Regions from separate parts of the Homo sapiens genome. Here regions 1 and 2 are each linked to region 3. Evidence: promoter capture Hi-C in 16 types of primary human blood cells and fetal thymus (Javierre and others, 2016). All regions are on one chromosome and are shown on one strand. Each heading gives the region's core, a stretch centred on a gene start or on the middle of the fragment in contact. The rest is flanking DNA. Distances are from core to core; before and after follow the strand shown.

Evidence for each region. Contacts are between HindIII fragments. The CHiCAGO score rates a contact against its expected background, and 5 or more counts as called.
Region 1: a contact is called between a fragment that was not itself captured here and the fragment with the promoter of HMGXB4 in region 3, in 1 of 17 cell types (neutrophils). The highest score is 9.3, in neutrophils.
Region 2: a fragment that was not itself captured here is called in contact with the fragment with the promoter of HMGXB4 in region 3 in 1 of 17 cell types (neutrophils); the score reaches 6.5 in neutrophils.

The regions. Positions count from the first base shown.
Region 1 is chr22:35,432,947-35,437,306 of GRCh38, forward strand. It overlaps a transcript of MCM5 not described here. Among named protein-coding and RNA genes, the nearest start is that of MCM5, 35 kb to the left of the region's middle. RefSeq lists an enhancer at 2,196-2,697. The HindIII fragment of the contact is 2,268 bases long and covers 1,666-3,933 here.
Region 2 is chr22:35,469,544-35,473,854 of GRCh38, forward strand. No RefSeq gene overlaps it. Among named protein-coding and RNA genes, the nearest start is that of RASD2, 69 kb to the right of the region's middle. The HindIII fragment of the contact is 1,349 bases long and covers 1,345-2,693 here.
Region 3 is chr22:35,256,173-35,260,573 of GRCh38, forward strand. HMGXB4 (HMG-box containing 4) reads left to right here and starts at 1,321. Exons shown (of 11, transcript NM_001003681.3): 1 at 1,321-1,385. It overlaps LOC105373017 (a long non-coding RNA gene), which reads right to left. Exons shown (of 4, transcript XR_938210.3): 1 at 2,016-4,401; 2 at 1,041-1,089. RefSeq lists an enhancer at 615-1,115 and a silencer at 1,381-1,880. The HindIII fragment of the contact is 10,131 bases long and covers 1,141-4,401 here.

The DNA.
Region 1 (4,360 bases), core at 1,550-4,049, 180 kb after region 3:
TTTTTTGAGACAGGGTCTCACAATGTTGCTCAGGCTGGAGTGCAGTAGTGCAGTCATGGCCCATTGCACCCTCAACCTTGTGGGCTCAAGGGATCCTCTCACCTCAGCTCCTGGAGTAGCTGGGACTACAGGCATGCACCACCATGTCTGGCTTATTTCTTAATTTTCTTGTAGAGACAGGGTCTTGCTATATTGCCCAGGCTAGCCTCAAGCTTGAGGGCTCAAAGTGATCTTCCTGCCTCCACCTCCTAAGTGTTGAGACTATAGGTATGAGCCACTGGGCCTGGCCCCTTGATTCCCTTTGCATGATAGAACTTCAACCCTTGGAGCCCCAGAGGATCCAGGCAGTATCAAGTCACCATCCATGTTATAGATGAGACCATGTATAACATCACCATCTTTAACACCACCATCCAGCCTTCAGATGAGATCACAGCCCTGACTGCAACCTCTCTGACCACAGCTCAGAGAGGGCATGTGGCATGCTCACAAACAGTCTGTTAGGGGCTTCCCCTGGGTCAGAACTCAGACCCCTCGGCTCTTAGTCCAATGCTCCTCTCCTAACCCAGGTTGCCTTTGGGGACCTTGGGGGGGTCTCTCATTTCATTGGGAATGCCTAATGGCATTGGTTGCCACGTGTTGCCATTGTTGGTGTATGTAAGTCGCTCTTCTGTCCTCATATCCCCACTCTGTCGTCCTGCCCCTTCTTGGGGGTGGATCCTGCAGGAGAGGGGGAAGCAGCCAAGCAAGGCTTCATTTCTACTTTTCCATCTGCAGGACCCAGGGCTGGGCACATTTGGTGCAACAGGCTGGAAATATTCTCCCCTACCCCACCCTCCCCATCCCTCCTCAGAGGCACTGGGCCGGGGACTGGAGCCTGTGGTGAGGTCCTTCCCCTCAAGCCCTGTCGGGGGCAGCCACTAAATGGCCCCAAGATCCCATGGACTCAAGGGATTCCATGTGGCATCCCTTCCCGTGCTGCAGAGGCTGGGAAACTTAACCACATTTCCAGACTCTCTTGCAGCTAGTGTTTCTGATGGCATGGAAATCCTGCCATTGAATGCAAACGCACAAGACTAGAATTTGGAACTGAGTTTCGTGGGGAGAGAGGCAGGGCATGGAGCATCCAAGCATCCATTTTGCTGTGTGGATGGTGGTAGAGTGCAGGCCTAATGCTGGAGCTGGCAGTTGTAATGGTGGCTTCTGAATTCCACAGCTTCTTGATGGAGGCAGGAGCCCTGGCATCTTAGCCCAGTTCAGCAGCGTTTTAGGCAGCTTTCCTGGATGCTCAGACACTTAGTAATAATATGCTTGAAAAAAAAAAGCCCTTTTTTTCCCTACTAGCTGGAATGGATTCCGTTGTCTGTCACTGAACCCTGATGATACATCTTCTACACACTGTGTGGGACAAGGCCCCATGGAAGTCCCAAGTCAGTAACCTGAACTCCCCACCCTCTCTGCCAAGAAAGAGCTTTTTTCTCTCAGTATCCATTTATCGGTCCCAGGGGAGCTCTCTGATTGGCTGTGCTTGGGCCAGTCATTATCTCCTGGACCAATCACAGTGGCCAGAGAGATGAGATGCCAAGATCAATTGGTCAGGTCCAGATCATTTCCTGCTTTTGTGACCAGGCGGGAAAGGGCCTATCTCCAGAAGTGGGATGAGAAAGCTTGGGCATTCCTACCACAGCCTGTCTGACAACACCTTTACCCCACAAGGAGGAACTATTAGTGAATGCCACACGGGACACTGCTGTAATGAAACACTGAGGACAGGAGATTATGACAAGAGTCCCACAGTTCCTGCTCATGGGTGATCATGCCTGTTCACCACTAATAGCCTGGGAAGGACGCACAACTGTCCCCATCTTTACCCCGACAATGCTTTGGGTGGGAGGGGGAAACTGAGGCACAGAGGAATGAGGAGGCAGGGCGCGGTGGCTCACGCCTGTAATCCCAGCACTTTGGAAGGTCGAGGTGGGTGGATCACTTGAGGTCAGGAGTTCAAGACCAGCCTGGCCAACGTGGCAAAACCCCATCTCTACTAAAATACAAAAATTAGCTGGGTATGGTGGCAGGTGCCTGTAGTCCCAGTTACTCAGGAGGCTGAGGCAGGAGAATTGCTTGAACCCGGGAGGTGGAGGTTGCAGTGAGCTGGGATAGCACCACTACACTCCAGCCTGGGCGACAGAGCAAGACTCCATCTCAAACAAACAAAAAGGAATGAGGAGGAGGCTGGGAGGCAGGGAGAGAGATGGGAGTTTGAATACAGGCCTCCCAATTTGCTGTGCATTGCTGGACCTGGAGGCAGACAGACCTGAGCTGTGTGTGACCCTGGTGAGGACCTCTGTCTCAGAACCCCAGGGGTCCAGTGTGCAGAGTGACAATGACCCTGGCTGTCTCTCAGGGCCGCGGTGGGGCCTCGATGGGGACTTGGTGGGACAGCATGTGCATGTGTGAAGACACCAGAGGCTCCTCCTGGTGCTGGTGGGACTTGATTCCTCAGGGAGGGGAGGAAGAAGGTGGTGGCCACCGGGCCTTTCAGTGAGGAGGCTTCTGCAGAACAACTCCCCCGTTGCTATGGTGACCAGACTCTCGGGGAGTCTGGCTTATTTTTGAACTTGGTCTACACAGCAGCAGCTTTGTTCCCGGGTCTTCCTGCTGCAGCCTTTGTCCTGTGGGCTTGTCGCCTGAAGCCTTGGCACAGTGGGTCTGAGTGGGACACAACCCTGGCCAGGAGGGGCAGGCAGAGGGAGGGGGAGACCCAGTAGGCACCCCCTGCCAGCCTCCCTAACTTGGCCTTGGAGGCGGAGGCCTGGGTTCTAGTCCTGCATCTGCTGCAGGCCTGCTGGGCAACCTCTCGGGCATGTCTGCTTGAGAGGGAAAAGGAGAGGGTATTTTTTGCTGTGCTTCCCCCAGTTGAATGAAAATGGAAGGAAATGGCCGGGCGCGGTGGCTCACGCCTGTAATCCCAGCACTTTGGGAGGCCGAGGCGGGCGGATCACCTGAGGTCGGGAGTTCAAGACCAGCCTGATCAACATGGAGAAACCCCATCTCTACTAACAATACAAAAATTAGCTGGGCATGGTGGTGCATGCCTGTAATCCCAGCTACTCGGGAGGCTGAGGCAGGAGAATCGCTTGAACCTGGGAAGCAGAGGTTGTGAACTGAGATCGCACCACTGCACTCCAGCCTGGGCAACAAGAGCAAAACTCAGTCTCAAAAAAAAAAAAAAAAAAAGAAAAAAAGAAAATGGAGGGAAAATGGCTAGCCCCGATGGGTCCAAGATGGTGTTTGGGACCCCTGCCCTCCCCGGCCTGGATCCAGCTCTTAACAGCCTCCCCACCCACAGACCGCATGGGCCCCAGAGGCTTCATGCTCCTGCTTCTCTGACCTTCCGCAGCTTCCAGGCCTCGCCACTACCTCCACACGCTGTTACATGTGACAGCATCCAGGCTTGGAGTTCAGCCCCTTCCTCAGTTTCCACCAAAGCCCTCTCTTATGTGCAAGGCTTTATTGAAAGCTGGGCAGAAGGGGCACCTGGGGGCTTCACGTTTTCTATGAGGGGGCCCTGCTGTTTCTACTCCTTTGCCAGCGCCCACTGCACCCTGCACATCTCATGGGCCGGGGCTTCTGGCCTTTTTCCATCTCCCTGGCTTCGTGCCCTCTCCCCCTCAATTCCCCCCTTCACTCTTGTGCAGAGCTGCTCAGCTCTCCCCAGCCCTGGCTTTCTGCCCCTGCATCACCTTCCCATGTCCAAACCCATTGGGGCAGGGCCACAGGCCATTCTGGGTCAGGACCCTGTCCTAGGAAGGCAGCCTGGCTGTAATCATATCCCCACCCGACCTTCACAAACAAATGAGAAGGGGCTGGCAAAGTGCCCTTGGGATTATGGGGTGGGTAGAAAAGACGTTTATCTGTGGGCCTAGAAACCCAAGCTTTGCCAGGGGGAGAGTCAGTTCGCAGATGAGGATGGAAGGGTGACTTCACAAAGCCAGATGGAGAGGGGTCCCAAGACTCAGCCTCGCGTCACTAGGGCCACCTCCTTCAGAGGACATGAGGAGGCCATTGGCCTGGATCCTCCAGAAATTTCTCTGAACACAGCCACAAACTTCTGACTTCTGGGCAGGTGATCAGTTGACACCTGCATGCAGAACAGCCCCAGGAGGATGCTGGGCTCTCCTCCCCTCCCCCTTACAGGAAGTGCCCATGGCTGGGAATTGACCAGGGCTTAGGCCTAGGGAATGGGCAGTGCCCCGAACATACTGGGTTTCTTTGGTCATGTGACTGGACTGGCCAATCAGAATGCCCCATCCCCTGGCCTAAGGATTGGCTCCTGGTGGGCAGGTGACTCAGGCTGGGC
Region 2 (4,311 bases), core at 769-3,268, 210 kb after region 3:
AATAAATAACTCCCCAGGGTCACCTGTCTACAGCTGGGGGAGACAGAAGTTGAACCCAGACGGTCCTGAATCCAAGGCTCAGAGGTTCAACTCCTGCTGTCCGCTGTTCAGGTGAAGTCAGGGGAATGGACTCAGGGTAGCCAGGCTGGCTGTGTGGTCTGCCCAAGGCATGGGTGACAGCAGCAGAAGACAGAGCGGGGAGGTCAGTGTAAAGGCAGAGGGATGGGCAGGGCCTCTGCCAGCCCTTGACCTCCTGGAGAAGCCAGTGAGGCTGACCTGGGGGCCTTCCCTGGGACATGTCCCTCATCCTTCCTCTACTCGAGGAGCCCAACAAGATACATGCTTGTGCCTGAGGGTAGGGTTGTTAGACTTCCCTGCATCAGCACCTTGTCTTTTAAGCAAGAGAGCTGGAGAGGGCCATGCTTAACCCAGAGAAATAAGTCACTAGTGCCATGTCATTCTCCTTTTTTTTTTTTTTTTTTTGAGACAGAGTCTTGCCCAGGCTGGAGTGCAGTGGCATGATCTCGGCTCACTGCAACCTCCGCCTCCCGGGTTCAAGCGATTCTTCTGCCTCAGCCTCCCGAGTAGCTGGGACTACAGGCACGTGCCACCACACCCAGCTAATTTTTGTATTTTCAGTAGAGACGAGGTTTCGCCATATTGGCCAGGCTGGTCTCGAACTCCTGACATCGTGATCCACCCACCTCGGTCTCCCAAAATGCTGGGATTACAGGTGTGACCCACCGTGCCCAGCCGTCAGTCCCTTCTTAAAAGCCCTGTGGCAGCTCCTCATGGCCCCAGGATGAAGAGGAGAGACGGAGGGGCAAGCAGTTTGCAAACCATCTGGACACTGGTGCCTGGGGAGGAGGCAACAACTCCTGCACTCAGCCCCTCGGCTGCGGAACTGGAAGAGGACACAGCCCCAAGGACAGAGACAAACAAACTGTGGGAGCCTTAGCTTCAGAGTCAAATAAATCTACGTTTCATCCTGTTTCTGCCACTTCCTGGGTGAGTGACTCTGGGCAAGTGCAGGGCGTGTGAACATTGGGAGAGGTGGCACCTGTGAAGTGCCTGAGCACATAGTAGGTGCTCAGTATGTTTGAGCTCATCTCCCTTCCTTCCCTCAGACCATGTCTCACATGCTGAGTTGGAAAAGGTCTGGTCGGGCTCTTGGTTACACTATGTATTATTTACATGGTATTGCACAAATCCCTAAACTATGCCATGTCTCTATTGATTAAAAAAAAATAGCCAAGTACACCCTAACACCTAATGATGATCATAAGATACATCTTGATTTCAAAGATGTCAAATATCAAAAGATGGTGTATCTCAGAATTGCTAAGCTTTGCTGCCCCAAACTTCACTCCTTTGCTGTCCTGAGTGTGTGCTTTTCAGCTTACGGTTTGTTGCCTCATGGTCTCAAGGTGGCTGCCAGGCATCCTATACTCTCACCCTCATCCCCATAAGGAAGATGAAAGGGCTGCCCCACAGTGGTTAGGTGACAGCCTCCCTTGTGTGGGGAGGACACAAGATCTTTTCTAGAAGTTGCTCAACAGACACACCATTGGCCAGAACTGGGTCACATGACTGCTGCTGTTGCAGAGCAGGCTGGGAAGGCTTTGACAAAGGAGGACAGTCATAAAGGCTTAGAACAATCCTTTTCAGCTCCTGTAGTGGGCGCCATGATGTTCTACCCTGAATGGGAGTTCTGCTAGCGGGGACAAAGTGAGTCGCCCGTTGGGCAGGCACATCTCAGACTCAGCCACAGACGAGACCTGGAAAACTCAGCGGACTCCGCCTCCCACCAAGACCTTTGATCTATTTATTTTTCCAGCATCCTTAATAGATAGCCATCCAGCCTCAGCTCAAACCCCTCTAACGGAGGACTCAGAACTTCACAGACAGCTCCCGGCCTTTCTAACTGCTGGATTGTTGAAATGCTCTTGCTTAGAGATGGAGCCAAATATGCCTCTTCCCACCAGTCCTGGCTTTGCCCCTTGGGGTCCCCCAGGTCCAGTGGGTTTTCTCTTGCTGGTGGTGCCTGCAGGTTTTGAAGACAGAGCTCACCCACACACCCCCACCCCCACTGCCTTCTCAGTTCCCGAATATCCCAGACATTTTCCTGACATTCTTAAAGGCATCAGTCATTTGTCATGGAGCTTCCTGTATTAGTCTGTTCTCACACTGCTGATAAATACATACCTGAGACTGGGCAATTTACAAAATAAAGAAGTTTAATGGACTTACAGTTCCACATGGCTGGGGACGCCTCACAATCATGCCAGAAGGCAAGGAGGAGCAAGTCACATCTTACATGGATGGTAGTAGGCAAAGAGAGAGTTTGTGCAGGGGAACTCCCGTTCTTAAAACCATCAGATCTCGTGAGACTTACTCACTATCAGGAGAACAGCATGGGAAAGACCCACCCCCATGATTCAATTACCTCTCACCAGGTTCCTCCCACTAAACGTAGGAATTGTGGGAGTTACAATTCAAGATGAGATTTGGGTGGGGACACAGCCAAACTGTATCACTTCAAATTAAGCAAATCATTTCAGCCATTCTTTCCTGAGAGTTCACTTTTGTCAGGCATTGTCCTCAGTCCTGGGTAGATAACAAGGAACAAAGCAGACCTTCCTTGGTCCGAGCCCACTGAGGAGCCATTTGTACATGTATTTCTTCCTCCAGGAAGCTTTCCCTGATTTCTGGATTGGCCTAGGAACTCCTTTTCTGGCTCCCACAGTCCCCATGCCCCTCTTCTATAACACTCCATGCACTCCTGACCTGAGTTTCTTTGTCTCCTACCCTGGACCGTGATCCCCATGAAGGCAGGGATGCATGTTGGTCATCAAGGTTGTGCTCAGAACAGAGCTGACAAATGGTGGGTGCTCGGTTTTTTGCTCTTTCCTCTATGAATGGGCAGTTACAGAGGTGGTTCTCAGAAGAACCGGGAGGAAGGGCATTTCTGGAGGTAAGGCTCATGCTCATGGCATTAGCCTCTGCTGGGACAGTCTCCATGCTCTTGGCCTCAAGCCTTCTCCTCGCTCCCCAGCTCAGAGCTGCAGGGTCAGGAGCCTGGTGAGCTTCTGGTACCCAGAGTGTCACAGCACAGGACAAGCAGCTGACTTAGCAGAAACAGGAATGCTTGCTCAGCCACATACCGACTGGGTGTCCTTGAGCCAGTGACTTAACCTCTCTGAACCTGTTTCCTTATTTGTAAAATGGAAACATGAACAGTGACCTCATGGGGTGATTGAAGGAGTTAATACCTGCCAATAACCTGGTGCATAGTGGGAGTGCCGCCACCTTCAGTTCTCGCTCCAACTAGTGGGGCTGCGGGTAGGGCCCTGCCAGCCTCTGCTCGAGCTGGAGGATGGTGCTGGGTGATGGGGATGGGCGAACATCAGGCAGTGTGGAAGACCCGGTGGCTTTGAAGAAGTAGGGCTTGGCATTCCCATGCAGCAAATCCCAGGGGACAGGGAAAAATCTGGGAAGTGACGTCTGCCGAGACCTAGGACAACTGCCCCAGACCACAAGGTGAGGTCTCCCAGGCCGGCTGGACATGTGCAGATGGATCAGCTCCCCATAAACCACACACAGGACAGAGATGAAGCCAAGATCCAGACAGGTCAGGTGACTTGTCCACGCTCACACAGCAGCTAGTCCCAGACCTCCAGATTCATGGCCCACTTTTACATTTTCTCTCTCTCTCTCTCTCTCTGTGTGTGTGTGTGTGTGTGTGTGTGTGTGTGTGTGTGTGTTTTGCCTCCTGCTTACCCAAGAGTATCTCCTTAATGGCCTCTCCTTGGAGATGACGAGGACATGAGCCTCTTCTTTATTCTCCCAGTGACCCACAGCTGCTGCCTCTGGTCCTTCCCAGCTCACCTAGCAGAAACCTGGAGAGGGTAGGAGGCCTGTGGGGGCAGATGCTCCAGAAAGGCATGTCCTTCGTTATTCTTTCACTGTGTTATGTCCTCTCTCTTCCAGACCTTTGCTCACGTGGTTCCTACTAAGCCTGCCAAGCAGGTTGGTGGCCTTCCTCCCCACTGTCTCAGAGACTCCAGGAAAGCAGCTACTAGGCTGCAGAGGGAGAAGCCAGTTACTCTTCTGTTGCCCTTGCTTGATTGTAAGCATCCTGAGGGCAAGGGCATTCCTGTCACTAGTACCATCTTAAGAAGGTCTACCCAGTGTCTAGTACCATTTGCAGTAGTCCCCGTGTTCAGCGCTATTTGCAGTATGGTTACTGTGCCCATTTAGCAGCCGAGAAAACAGAGACTCAGGTTATGAGCTAGTTGAGCTGAGAATGAA
Region 3 (4,401 bases), core at 71-2,570:
GTGTGGTCTCAGACAAATCACCTTGCTTTTATTGGTCTCATGACTACCTCGTCTTCAAGCACTCACCCAACTCTGCAATGGAAAATACACTAGGACAGAGGTTCTTAATTTTTTATGGGGCCTGGGCCCTAGGAAAACACACACTGCACACATGATTTTACGTTGCATGGGGTTCACAACTCTAGAAGCCAATCTACATCTCTAACTTCTCTGCTTTACAGTAACACCAGCTTCTGCTTGAGCGCTCCTCCAGTGGGAGGGAGCTCACTACTCACAAGGAAGCCCATTGTACTACTGAACTGTACTAGAAAAATAAGTTATTCTTCATATATATATATATTTTTTGAGATGGAGTCTCACTCTGTCCCCCAGGCTGGAGTGCAGTGGCGCAATCTCGGCTCACTGCAATCTCCGCCTCCCGGGTTCAAGCGATTCTCCTGCCTCAGCCTCCTAAGTAGCTGGGATTACAGGCACGCGCCACCACGCCTGGCTAATTTTTTGTATTTTTAGTAGAGACGGGGTTTCACCACATTGGTCAGGCTGGTCTCGAACTCCTGACCTCAGGTGATCCACCCACCTCAGCCTCCCAAAGTGCTGGGATTACAGGCGTGAGCCACCGCCCCTGGCGTTCTTCTTCATATCAAACCAAGTTCTATACACTGTAATTTCTACTCATTGGTCGAAGTTCTCAATGGCAAATCAGAAAAATTGTGTTCTCGCCTGTATATGACATCTCTTCCTCTCTCTCTCTGAAGACTGTTTCTAACTAAAAAATGTAGATGATTCGCCATGCAAATTATTTTACTGTACATTGTTACAAAGATAAGTTCTTCACCTCACCCCTAATATGCCAAATGTTCAAATGTAGATGCTGAAGTCCAAATAAGCACACTGCTATTAATCTGCATAGATCTAGGTGTTGCAAAGAGGAGAACTGCTGTATAACAATATCTTGAAAGAAACAGCATAGTATTTTGGGGAAAGCACTGCATTCAGAATCAGAAGACTTGGAGTAATACTCGGTCTCACATTCCAACTACCTGTGTATCCTTGGGCACGTCACTTAACTTCTCTCAGCCTGGTTCTCTTCTGCAAAATGCGACAGGAATACAGTGAGGATTAAGTGAAATAATGTTTGTAAGCTTCTAGGGCAAGGCTGGGACATAGCAAATTCTCAATAAATAAGTGCCAGCTCCCGCGCTCAGCAGGCTCCGAGTTTTATTCGATGCGCTCGGCGCTCTTGGTCGAGCGGGATTCCCCCTCCGGAGCCCGAGTCTGCGCTCTGGGCTCGACTGAGGCTCCCTGGCCGCTCGCGCTTTTCTCTCCTTCTCCAAGATGGCGGCGATCGGCGGCGTTGAGGCGGGATCCGGGCGAGCCGAGTGAAGGTAGCGGCGAGCGGAGACCCCAGGAGACCGGGCTGGGCCCCCACCCTGAGGCGGCAGCAGCCCCGCCCCGTCGCCACCCGCCGCCCTGGGCCCGCGACATCACCTCTGGGGTGCCCCAGGCCCTTCGCGGCCTAGCCCAGGGGCCGAGCCGGGGACTGGAGTAGCGGCCGCAGCCGCCCCCAGGAAGGGGCTGGAGCGGGCAGAAGGAGGAGGGCGGGCGGGAGCTGTTCAAACGGGGAAGGCGGGAAAGCTGCGGGGCCGGGAGGGGGCGTGCGGCCGCCCCGGGGGCCTGCGGACCCGGGCCGCCCCTCCCCCTGCCCGGGCCGTCTCCGCCCTCGGGGGCGCCGTGAGGCCGCCGGAGACGCGGGAACCCGGGTTCAGGTCGAGCTGTGCGGCTCGGAACCCGCGATGCGGGGGTCCCTCGGGCTGTCAGGGGGAAAGGGCTCGTGGCCGCGGCCACGGGAGGGCTGGGGCTGCGGCTGGCAGGAGAAAGTACGAGGAGCTTTCTTCTTTTCCTCTTCACAGAGCTTTGTTGAGCTAGCTGTTGCCGCAAAACTGCCGGGAGAATCCCACTGGTTTGCCTTGGGGACCACAAAAATGGTGGTCCTGGGGGCTGTTTGTGTAAATCACCTGGTATTTTGTGTGTTTCTTGCGTGCAACCCGGCTTGGCCGTGCCTTCGTGGTGGGCGCCTTCTCCATGCAGGCCCATTTTCCCTCCACCAACTACTACTTGTAGATTCACTTTATAGCGTGCAAAAGCGGAGAAACATCTCTGTCCCCTCTTTTGGAGGGCTAAGCTGGTGGCTGATTATATTTCCTCCTAATAGAACAAAGTAAAAAACTGAATCCCAAATAAAGCCTGTTGATTGGACAAGGCTTCTCAAAATTCGATTGCTGGTCTTATGGAATGTGTGTTGTCAGCCAATCTGTGCGGTGGTCGTGGTTCCGCTTAATTGCACTGCAATGAGAGGATTCAATCCCCATCCCCGACTGTCGGGATCTCTGCAGCTTCCAGAGCTGGCAGGGGCTGGGAGTGCTGCCTAGGTAGGTCCCTGGAGAAGGGAGTGGCAAGAGGATTCGGAGTCACCGTGTTCGGAGATTGGAAGAAACCTGGACGAAGTTGAGAAGGCATCACTTGTCTGTATCGTAGAAGTAACAAGAAAATTTCAGAAATTGGCAACCGGCGGATGTGCATCTTCCTTTACCTGCACTGACTGGCATTTTGAGTTCTTGAAAGGAGTGGTTGGAAGAAGAGAATGCAGAATCTTGGACATGGCTCTCATCCTGGAACAGACCTGGAGTTCAGAATTTCTCTTACTGTCCGTGTGACGGGGCTTACTTTGTTTCCTTTTTTTCGATACTCATTTACATTATGGGGTGAAGAAGGTTGTTGATTGCAGGAGCTCAAGTTACCTCAAAAAAAGTCTGAAACCTGTTTTTTAACTGTAATTTGAAGTTTCAAAATGACAAAGTGCTATATCTGAGGACTTTTTCCTCCTGATTACTTTGGTCATCCCAAAGGCCTATGCCTGAACATAACTTGTATGCTTATCTACCAGGGAAAGAGCAACTCTGCCCCCTCCTTTTTCATATCCTGAAGAAAAGTCCCCGAAGAGCTATTTAACAATTTGTGCATTTCATAAGTATACATTTTTATGGTACCAGTTTTTTACTTGTATCAACAGTATGAAATAGTGAACTTTTACTTATGTTGTCATATCTTAGCACACTGAGACAAACAAAATTATTCTTGCCTCTTGGAGTTGACAACATTGAATTTTATAAACTCCCAAATTATTGAATTGAGACTGGGTTTTAACACCTGTTTCACATTTGCCAACATTTAATGTAATTATGACCTCCCTTTTCTAATGTGAAAATCAAACCTAATATTCATTTTCATTAATCCTCACAATCTACTCTCTACCCCTGAACTCTGAATTTTCACAGATTGTATTCAAGACCTGGAAGGAATATCAGGGGTTCATCTGATCTTATATAAATGTTGCCTGAACTCTGCCTTTCTTTCACACTGTTGCTTGAGATTTATCTGGTATCTTTCCAAAACTAAACCCTGAGCTGCAATAATATCCTGATTTTAAAGAACGTAGAAATTCAGGGCCCATCGGTCTGCCCAAGCTGTGGCTGATACAGTCCGTTGTGTTTAATTTTAGTTTTTCAAGCTCTTGGCTGCCCCAGTTCTTCAGTGAATTGGACGTGTCTTCAGGCCTCATTCCTTCTTTTTTCTTCAGGTTATTTAATCCAGTAATTTATAAAATGCTCTTCAGTGTTTTTAAGAAAATTTAAACAGTGGTAGACCTAATATATGTAATGCCAACACCACATTTTCTTGGTTGGCCTGTGCCTCTGAGAAGCAGTTCCTAATTTTCTATTCCCTCTCACAACTTTTTAATCCACTAGTTTTTTAAAGCAGCCAGTAACGAGACCACGATACAGTCATCTTTCTTTCTTTCTGTCTTCAGAGGTACTTATTTCTATTCTGTTAGGTTGCCCAACTCTGTTTTATGTTGATTTTGATGTTACCAAAGGGAAGGCCTGTTATAAGTCTCAGGACCAGCCTTTGCTTACATATACAAGTGCATTTTGTTGTTGACAAAACACTGATGACTGTATTTATGACATTGAATATTTAAGTTTTTTGCCATTATTTCTGAAATATTCTTTGCCAAAATTCATGCACAGAAAGTGTTTAATTTGAGGTCTCCATTGGTTCTTGGCATTATCAGCCTATGAAAATCTATATAATCTATATATTTTTCTTATAAACTCAGTATTTTAGTGCCATTGAGAGGATATGCTGTTTTCAAATAAATTGATATAATTCCCTGTATTTCCCTTCTACCTGCACCCCTTTTGGAGTCAGCACCACTTGGGTGGAAAGGGGAGGACAGTAGTTTCCGCTGAGAAAGTGTCATCCTTAAATGCTGGAACATGGAAAACTGGCTACATTATGTATCTTGCCTCCTCACATTTTTATCTGAGGCCTGACCTTATG